3 separate regions of the Homo sapiens genome follow, and regions 1 and 2 are each linked to region 3. The links are contacts of gene promoters, found by promoter capture Hi-C in blood cells and fetal thymus (Javierre and others, 2016). All regions are on one chromosome and are shown on one strand. Each heading gives the region's core, a stretch centred on a gene start or on the middle of the fragment in contact. The rest is flanking DNA. Distances are from core to core; before and after follow the strand shown. Region 1 overlaps LOC105372593 (a long non-coding RNA gene). Region 2 has its middle 4.1 kb from the start of BPIFA3. Region 3 holds the start of SUN5 (Sad1 and UNC84 domain containing 5).

What was found. Contacts are between HindIII fragments. The CHiCAGO score rates a contact against its expected background, and 5 or more counts as called.
Region 1: a contact is called between a fragment that was not itself captured here and the fragment with the promoter of SUN5 in region 3, in 1 of 17 cell types (endothelial precursors). The highest score is 6.8, in endothelial precursors.
Region 2: a contact is called between a fragment that was not itself captured here and the fragment with the promoter of SUN5 in region 3, in 1 of 17 cell types (M1 macrophages). The highest score is 5.2, in M1 macrophages.

Annotation. Positions count from the first base shown.
Region 1 is chr20:33,245,719-33,249,010 of GRCh38, forward strand. The region is part of intron 1 of LOC105372593 (a long non-coding RNA gene); the gene reads right to left. Among named protein-coding and RNA genes, the nearest start is that of BPIFA1, 11 kb to the left of the region's middle. The HindIII fragment of the contact is 951 bases long and covers 973-1,923 here.
Region 2 is chr20:33,211,622-33,214,869 of GRCh38, forward strand. No RefSeq gene overlaps it. Among named protein-coding and RNA genes, the nearest start is that of BPIFA3, 4.1 kb to the right of the region's middle. The HindIII fragment of the contact is 1,073 bases long and covers 1,132-2,204 here.
Region 3 is chr20:33,002,950-33,006,487 of GRCh38, forward strand. It overlaps SUN5 (Sad1 and UNC84 domain containing 5), which reads right to left and starts at 1,484. Exons shown (of 13, transcript NM_080675.4): 1 at 1,315-1,484. The coding sequence starts at 1,391. The HindIII fragment of the contact is 1,549 bases long and covers 215-1,763 here.

The DNA.
Region 1 (3,292 bases), core at 198-2,697, 240 kb after region 3:
AACATCCCAGACTTTACAGAAAACCATGTCCCTTGCTCTTTGGAGACCTTGTTGAGCTCGTGAGAATGAGCAGATTCCAGTTCATGTTTCTCAAATCTCTGATTCTAAACTGGGGACCTACCCATTCCCCAACCCCTGTCAGACATCAATCATCAAGTCCAGACCTGCCACTATCTCCACCTACTGTTGCCTCCAATCAACATGGCATCATAGAAGGACAGTTGCATAGCTCAGACTTCGAGATTTGTTGTGTGACACCATCATGTGTCTTCAGGGAGAATTTAAGAAAGAAAGCATATTCCACACCCACAAAAGTTCTCTGAGCTCAGATGAGTAATTAACTCCCAGCAAGCAGCTGAATGAGCCTTGGAAATGTCCACCTAGGCACTGACCGGAAATGCAGAAGGACCTTCCAGATAGGAAGCCAGCAACTGGGGCCTGCTCGTGCTAGAGAGGCTCCAAGAATAAGCTACCTTCAGGTCCTCTCAGGGCAGGCACTGGATCAGCACTGAGAGTTCCCTGTGTCTGAGGCCCCAAGAACTGAGATGGATGGAGCCCAGGGACACACATCTAGAACCATCAGTGCTGGGCCTGCTGCCCTCTGGCCATTGTACTGAACCGTGTTCCTGCCTCACACCCATCCCCTGGCCATCTCTGGATATGATTTTCCCCCTGCTCCCCTGGACTTCTTCCTATAGCCCACAGAAGGGTCCTCCCCTCTCTGACAAGTTCAATTTCTAATTAGCTAATCTAGAATTCCCCTGGATACAAGACATCCTGCCAGGTGGCCAGGCTAGTCAAAAACATTTATGCTATTTAAAGAGTGGAAACACATTTTTAAAACTCTCTGGGATTATGTCAGTGAAAGTGGCAAAGGAAAGGTCTCTGAAAATTTTTTCCTACGTAAAAGCAATGAGAAAACTGACAGAAATGGTCTTAACTAACATTTTCAGAGCTCTGGAAATTAACCAAAGCTTGTAGCAATCTGGGGAGAGTTTATTCAATACAAATTATGGAGTCTCAGCAAGAACAGAGAGCTTTGTGGCATTTTAACCTCTCCCATCTCCCCATACTCCCGCTCCACAGCCAACTCGAAAACGAAAAGCCCACAATCTTTGTGAGAACCAGCAGCCCAGTAGACACTGGAGAGGTGAGGAGGGAGTTAGAGCAACTCATTCGCAGAGAATTGTCATTGTTTGACCGGCCCATTGGTTTCCCAGGAAGACCCATTCTCATGATTGTCATTACTTGACCTGACGCAGAGCTCCCCTGGTCTGAACAACCTTTTCCCCAAATACATTTGTCAAAAAATAACCAGAGGCAACTATTTAACACCACAGCTGCCTGAGGGGATGTAATATTTGGGGCAAACAAAAAACTAACCAAAAAGCTGACAAGGAAAAGCTGGGGAATAAGATATCTATATGAGCTTTGAAAATCTCCAACATACTCCTAGGGCTCTAGGAGGGCATGTGCTTACAGGGAGCTGTGTTTATGTAAGGAGTAAAGATTAAGGCAGAATTGTGTTAAATAAAAATTAGAAAAGGCCACTGTTTTGAACTGAGCTCCTGCACTAGGCCCAACAGACCAGACCAAACCAGAATGGAGCCACTCAGGCATGGGATCATGTAATCAAACTAAACTTTAGTAACAGGCCAGTTTTCCAACCAACCAGAGGGGGCCAAGTCTACCTGAGCCAGAGGGTAAGAAAGTTCCCTCTTCCTTAACCCTATAAGGAAAGTAACTTTGAGATGATCAATCTATTTTTTGTCCCCTGTTTCTTCTTCTTTTATACCTATAAAACCCACCTCTGCTCAGCCCACAGGAGCTCACAGGAGCCTTTCTAAATCTTTAGATGGGATGCTGCCCAACTTGCTAATCTCTAAGAAAAGCCCATTAGAACATATCCCTATGTTTAAGGTAAGCTTTGTGAACAGGGTATTCAGTACCTGTGGATCTCAACCCGCACTGAGGGTCACTCTCCTACTGGGGCCCCCATCAGATTGGCAATATGTCACATGTGGACTATTCATGCCTGGAGGGAAAGCTCCAAATACACGGGTGACAGGTCCACAATGTTTCAAATCCCCACCTACGGCTGCCACTGCTAATCTTCACCAGTGTGTTGTCAATCTAGGCACTACTAGGTACTCTAATGAAACAAAAAGGGGAAAGATTTGTTTCCCCATCCTCTACCCTCTTCTCATACTTTGTGGCTGGAGGTGTGTCTGTCTATTAATCGGGGTGCTGGCTGGCTGTCCAGGTATTACAACCCAGGCTGTGTGTCCCCATCCTGAGACTACCTCTGTGGACACCCATTGCCCTTCCTGCTTGACCCAGAACTTTCAGCCTCAATTGTCCAGTCCAGGAAGGGAGATCATGTACTGCACAAATTTAACAGGTCTGATAATGTTGCCCACCTGAGTAGAAGGATCAGATGTCCCTGGAGCCACTAATGGGACCCTAACATCCTGGAACTCTTTGGTCTCATCCACTACCCCTGTGGAGTCCCATAAAAGAGAGGTGCCCAGGGGAAGCATCACCACCAGATTAGAGTTAGGGGGCCCCATCTGGGGTATTATGACAGCCTGAACCACAAACTACCCCAGAGACGTGCACTCCTTAGGGAAAAAGAAAAAAAGAATGGTTGAGAACACGGAGATTGGAATTTCACAGGCACAGCCTAATCAAGCACTGTCCAGTCCATGTCCACCTCAAGCCCCACCAAGTTCAGTGTTTCCCAGCATGTGCTGCAGTATTTACTGTGCATCCTGCCCTAATCAGGCAAGGGTACCAGCCCATTAGCAGACCACCTTAATGTCCTTTCTTCAGTTGCTACTTGAGTTAACCGCTCCATCATTCATTGGCTCCATTGGCCCGCAGGTGATATGAGTGCAAACTCACATTCCATGAGTTTGAGCTCATTGTTGTGTTGCTTGGGCAGTAAAATATATTCTTTGGTCAGAGTAAAGTCCCACAGGTATCCAAAAACATGACATAGTTCTTTTTAAGAGCATCTATGGTAGTTTCAGAGTTCACATGGTGGTCTAGAATGGTAATACCACAGCCTGAGTAGGTGTCAATGGCAATGAGGACATGAGTGCCCATGGCAGGAGGCCAGAGGCCTGTTGTGGTCAATCTGCCACACCAGGGCAGTTTCTAGCCCTCAGTTAATGTATCCCAATTCCTCTCTTTGAACAATTTGTGCCCCTTAGCAAGAATCACAAGGTTGTACTGTGTCCCTAGTCTCGGCATCTTCCAGGATGCTCGTTCTTGCATCTGAGGCGGATGT
Region 2 (3,248 bases), core at 418-2,917, 210 kb after region 3:
CTATCTCCAGCAACCACGAGAATTTAGGATCAGGTAAAGCAAAATGAGCAAATATGGGGTGACATGTGTTGGAGAAAATTACTAAAAGGGGGATTGGGATCCAAAAGCAGAAAATGGAAGAAGAGAGAAAGCAAGTTTGGTCCCTTTGAGAAACGCAGCAGGAAGCAGAAGAGAAGCCAAGTTGGCTGAAGAATAAAATTAATGATCAAACAGGTTGAATGTGCATTTTTAAAAGAAGGACCCATGCCGGTTTCCTCTTCCTACTGGCTGACATTTAAGGGCAGGTGAGGCTGTGCCTGGCTGGTTATCCTTAATGACCTGCCTTGCTCCTTTCCTCCTGAGAACACTCCTGCTATGTAAGCCCCGGGACTTGACAGGTTGGTTCCTGCCCCCTTGTGGTCCAGAGTGTTCATGGTTATGGTGAGACCTGCAGTCTTCAGTCTATCTGGTGGTTCAACTCACTGAAAATGTTGGTATTTGCCATGTGTGTTCCACGGAATCTTATTGGCCTCTGTAGTATATAAGAGGAAATGCAGCCGGACAGAACAAGCTTGCAGACCCCTGCGAGGGAAGGTTAAGGGCTGTAAGTGAATTTATCCAGAAACAAGGTAGAGCCTATCAGAGCCAGGCAGCCCAAGTTCAAATCCTAGCTCCACATTATCAGCTGTGTGTCCTTAGACAAGTGTCTCCAGAGTCAGGGCTCAACATCCATCTGCCCTTATTATTCTTCCTGCCTCTCCTTGCAATGCTTGTGCCTGGGGGAATGGGGGCTGAGGATCATGTTGGGCAGCAGAATGGGGTGTGGGATGAAGCAGTTGGTGGGGAATGAGCAACAGCTCCTCTGAGCTCCCTTCTGCAGGCCAGGCTACCTGGTTCCCATCTGAGCCCCACCCCTCCCCAGCTGGGTGGATTTGGGGATTTTACTTAACATTTCTGTGCCTCTGCAAAAGGAGGCCAATAATAACAGTGCCTACTGCAAAGGGTTGTGTTGAGAATTCAATAAGTCATTACAGGTAAAGCACTTAGCTTGCCCCTGGAGCTCAGTCAGCACTCAATAACTGTTAGCTGGTATCACTGTTATTATTTCAGCTAAGTGATCTTCACACACCGTGTGCATCAGAATTGTCCAGAAGCTTATTCCCAGGATCCCCCTCAGAGAGCCTGACTCAATTCATCAGAGGTGACCTAAGAATCTGCATTTTTACAAGTCCCATCTCTCCCTCCAAAATTCGGTGATGCTCCCCTGGAAATTCCAGCATTTCCATTTTCCCTTTGCCCTCTCCAGGCTACCCTCAGAACCCAGAAAAGGTCAACTCTTCCTTTGTGAAACCCAATATGCCATTCAGAAACGGTCCCCACTCTCTCTTCCCCTGCCATTTTAAGGAAATTCGCCTTTGGATTAAGGTTCCAGCCCCTAGTTCTGTACAGTTGTTAGGCATATGTATGTTAAACACATATATATGTGTGTGTGTGTGTGTGTATATATATATACATATACATATATATGTGTGTGTATATATATATATCTTTTATATATATATAAAAGAATGGAATGAATGAATGACTAGATGAATAATGAATTCCATTCCTTAGAAGAGTAACTCTCAAAGTATGGACTGAACCCCCTGCATCATCTCTCTAGGGTGTTCATTCCAAAGGCAGCTCCCAGCACCTCCCCCCAGCCCCCACTAAATCAGATTCAGGAATCTGCATTTAATGCTTCTGCCTCCTCTGCTGTTCCCTGGAGTTTGGGGACCTCTGCCTTTTGCTAGGGACCTGGAATTTCCTTAGAGCCCCAAGGAGGGGAAGTGGCCACCCCAATTGGCCGTTAGAGATCACAGGTGTGCATAAGCCTGCTTGGCCCGGAGTTCTGCCAAGGGAGGTTCCTGCCTCCTTGTCCCACTGGACAGCTCTTCCTGCAGCCAGGGATGTGAGACAGGCCCTCTCCCTGGGCACATGGGTACAGACTTCTCACCCCATAGACAGCCACTACTGTCTTCCTTTCTTCCTCCAACCTGCCGAGCTCTTTCCCACCTGAGGGCCTTTGCCCTCATGGTTCCCTCTGCCTGGCTCCCCTTCCACATTTTTATACTCAAGCCTGGCTCCATCTCCTCCTCTCCTCCTGGGCTCTGCTCAAATGTCGCCTGAGACCTTCCCTAATCCTGGTCTAATGTGGCCTCCTTGCTATTTCCAATCTTACAGTAAGCTTTTTCCCCTTAATACAATTTATGGTTATTTGGTTTCTTGTTTATTTCACCTTGTTCTGATTCCCTCACCAGATGATAAGCTGCTGGGGAATAGGGTGACTGTTATTCCCTAGAGTCAAGCACAGTGCCTGGCACACAGTTGGCCCACAGTAAATAATGGTTGGGTGGATGGATAAATGAATTTTTTTCAAAGTCAAACTCCTTGAAAGCCAGTTTCCCAGGAGAGCAAGGGTTTTACCATTGAACCCATGGGCATGCCTTAAGAGGTCCATGGCAATCCTGGTACTGTGTGCAACATTGTTTGGCTTGGTGAGTTTTTTTTTTCCTAAAAGACAAACCAAAGCTTCCAGTGCATTTTCAAAATGTCCCCCAAGAAGGTAAAGAAGCTTGTTTTAAGGAAAGCTATTTGGAATAGTGAAGGAGGCTGCTAATGTGTGAGGCTCAGTGGTGTTCCACAGCGCCAGTGTCCAAGGAAAACAGTGTCTGAGGCAGTTCTGGGGAAGGCAAGACAGCCCACTGGGATGCCAGCTCAGCCTCTTCCTGGCTGGGAGCTTAGGCAGCCGCTGGGTTTCTCTGGGTCCCTGTCTCCTCACCTTTGTGGGATGAGGACGGAATGAGATAGACCACAGAGCAGGCTTCACACAGGGAACGGGTCCCAACGGAGAAACGCCAGCCCCGCCAGCCTCCAAGTATTTGCTCATTAAGGAGCTGTCCTCAATCCACCACCATCCTTCCTGAGAGCACCAGCGTGGCGTGCCCAGCCACCCTGGGTTTTTTCCTTGAATGTCAGCTAAAGAAACTCCACCTCCTCAGGGAGGTCTTTTTCCTGACATCCCTTTTCCCCCATTGGCCAGGTATCCCCTCCCTGTGCCCTCTCACAGTACCTCCCACCTCCTTCACCTCTGGGCCATATTTCATAATCATATGCTCAGTTGCAGGGATAATTGAAGACTGTGTGTCTCCCCACTGGTATGTGAGCTCCATGAGGACAAGGACCCTGCCTGACCACTCTCTGTGGGATCCCCAGAGCCCACGGCTCCT
Region 3 (3,538 bases), core at 234-2,733:
TACAATTATGAGGAACATAGTGTCCTTGGAATGTGCATACCACGTTCCAGATTGGGAAACTGAGGTACAGAGAAGGTTTCCCAACACCACCAGCCTGTGATTCAGGGACAGACCCAGGTCTGGCTGACCCCAAATCCAGGTATCCATCAAGGAAAAGACCCAGGTTGCTGTGGCAGTCACAGGCGGTTGTCGCCATGTCCCCGAGGTTGGCAGAAGCTTGGTTTTGTTCCTTTGTCTGCTCCTACCCAATGTGATTTTAGGCCATTTTGATTGGTCGAAGCCTGCTGTCGTGCTCCCATTCCCTGTGCTGTGATTGGTTCAAGGGTGAGGAAGTCTGCAGGGGTGAGGTAGGGTGAGGTAGGGGGGTGGTTACGAGGTAAGGGACTTGGGGGAAAAGTTAGGTTTAGGATTAGCTAAATGAGACCCACAGAAAACGATGCTTATTCTCCTTCCCCTAGACGCCACATTTCTGCGTGACACCTGAAACTGTGGTGGCCATCTTGTGACCATGAGAGGGGGCTAAAAGAGCAGAATGATGACAGGAACCTGGGTCTTGGGTGGCAGAACTGAGGAATTAACACACTCCGGAGCCCCCTGCACCTTGGGACCTCTTGATATGTGAGATTTAAAATTTTCCCTTATTTCTTAAGTCAAAGGTCTTTAAACATTTTTGTTTATACCACCTCAGAGTATTTATATTGGTTTATTAATAAATTATATATACACCCAATTGTACTAATACATTGTTTACCCTTCCCAAATGTACAGATTTATGGTAACATTCCTGAATAATATAAATTAAAAGAGGATGAAAGACATACATTCTAGCCTGGTTATTTCTTTTCTCACCCTTGGGGATTGTTTGGTATACTCTCTTGGGATATACACCCAGATTTGGGTGCCCAGAGATAGGCATCATTTTAAGTTGGAATTTCTGTCACCTGCATTCAGAGGCTTTCTGACAGATAAAGATGGCGAAATACTTGTTTCCTTCTTTCATACCAGTCTCCTGCACTAGACCGTGAGCTCCATGAGGGAACGGAGCACATCAGACTGGTGCCACACCGTGTTCCCCGTCCTCTGTGCATTTCCCGGCACACAGTAGATGCTCAATAAATGCGTGCTGGAAGGATGGCTGCTTCACCACTTCCTGGCTGGGAGACTTTGGGAATACCACTGCCAAACCTCTCTGGTCTTGGTGGCTGTCTCTGTACAGTACAGTTGACAATGCCACTCATCTCCAAGGACAGGGTGGAGGGGCAGCATTTTGTAAACTGTAAAGGGCTGGGCAAAGGGAGGGGCTGCCATCCTCACCTCCGGGGTCTGGGATTGTGGGCCACATCTTCGAGTAGGGCGCCTGGGTCCCCAGGGCTCCTTGAGGACCGTGGCATCGATTTCCTTCTTTAGGATTGGGGATGGAGATGGGAACTCTGGGAGCTGGTGAGGAGGAAGGGGCTGATGCCTCTGAATGTCCCCTGAAAAGTGCCAAGTGGAATCTGCCAGGATCAGTGGAGCAGTTGGCATTGTGACCTCACAGAGCAGGTGGGTGGAGGGGCAGGGGATGGGGCTAGTCTCCAGCTTGGCCCTAGAACCTCCCCCAGAGGAAGCCATTGTGACCCACTTTCCTTTCTTAAGATGGGGAAATTGAGGCATCAAGACAGGAAGGGCCATGCTGGGGTCTCAGAAGCTGGACAGGGGCGAGAGCTGAAGCTCCAGTAACCCAACCATGCTTTTCCTTGTTTCCTAGATCCCTTCCTGCCCCAAGCTTCCCAGGCTTTTCACCTTCTTAGGTTGCACCTGAATGCATTTTGTAATGCTGAGCTTCTCACTGGTGGACATTGTGCATAACACAAAATAACATTGCATGTGTTGTTGCTTTAATAAAGTTCTACTTTTTGTTGGGCCCGGTGGTTGATGCCTGTAATCCTAGTACTTTGAGAGGCAGAAGCGGGTGGATTGCCTGAGCTCAGGAGTTTGAGACCTGTCTGGGCAACATGGCAAAACCCCTTCTCTACTAAAAATACAAAAAATTGGCTGGGTGTGGTGGTGTGTGCCTGTAATCCCAGCTACTCGGGAGGCCGAGGCTTGAGAATTGCTTGACTCGGGAGGCGGCAGAGGTTGCCGTGAGCAGAAATCGCGCCATTGCACCCAGCCTGGGCAACAGAGTGAGACTCTATGTCCAAAAATAAAGTTCTACTTTTTTACTGGGGAAAATAAAAGCATAACCGAGTGGAAATGTCGGGCTAAGTTTTTTCTGTTCACCCTGCCTGTAGGGAGCTTGACTATTTGGATAGCAAAGCTAAAATGAATTCACTTTTGCCCCCTGGTGGCAGTTGCTTAAAATTGCAGGCTAATTACCAATGGGAAGTGGTACGATGGTCCCTCAAAGAGGCCCACACACTAAAACCTGAACATGTAAATATGTTAAGTCACAAGGCAAAAGGGAGTTAAAACTAGAAGAGCAATTTAAGTTGCTAATCAGTCGATCTTGAGATGGGAAGAATACCCTAGATTACCCATGTGGGTGCAATGTAATGACAAGGGTCCTTAAAAATGGAAGAGGGAGGCAGGGAGATGGCAGCACAAGAAGCACTCAGCCCAACATGCTGGCTTTGAAGATGGAGGAAGGGACCAGGAGCCAAGGAATAAGGGCAGCTTCTAGAAGCTGGAAAAGGCAGGTGGACAATTCCTCTCCTACAGCCTCCAGCAAGGAACACAGCCCTGCCAATACTTCCTTGATTTTAGCCCAGGGAGACCCATCTGGGACTTCAGACCTCCAGAATGGTAACATGATAAATTGTGTCTTAAGTCACTAAGTTTGTGATAATACATTATTGCAGCAACAGGACACCAATGCAAAACCCCTGAGAATATTCAGTGAAGGGGAAACTCTGAAATGCCACCACTACAATTGTTACAAGGGTCTTTCAAATGTATACTCATTCATTTATTCATTCAACAAATATTTATGCACCTAGTATGGTCCAGGTGCTGGAAACAGGGCTGAGCAGAACCAGCTCCCATCCCTGCGGATGCAGGCAAAGTGGCTGGCAGAACATTCTGCATATAGCAGGTGCTCACCAAACGGTGCTTGCCATTGCTGTCAGGAGCCGGTTGAGATCTGGGATGGGCTGGTGAGAATCTCCCTCTTTTATGTCTACTGGCTGTCACCCAAATGGCTCTTGTGCTGGAAATATTTAAGAAAAGGAAGTGTCCAGGCCAACAGCAAACACCAAGAGTGGGTTTGGTCAATATTTGCGCCTCTGTCCACTGAGTCTGCTGTTTGCATCAGCTATGGTGAGGGCGCAGGAGGGGCCGGTCTTGGGCATTGGTGGACAGACCAAGGCCAGGAGCAGGGTGTCAGGGAGCTCACAGCAGGCTCTTCTCATTCCTCTTTGCGTCTAGAATAGGGGCAAGGGAGCACTGGTTGGGAGGCAGGGCTGGTTCAAGTGAGCTCCAGCTGCTCAGGGGAGGGCTTGATGGTGTCTGTGGTCAGCTTTGTAGACACTGGTGGAGGCCTAGCACAGGGTGGGCCTGG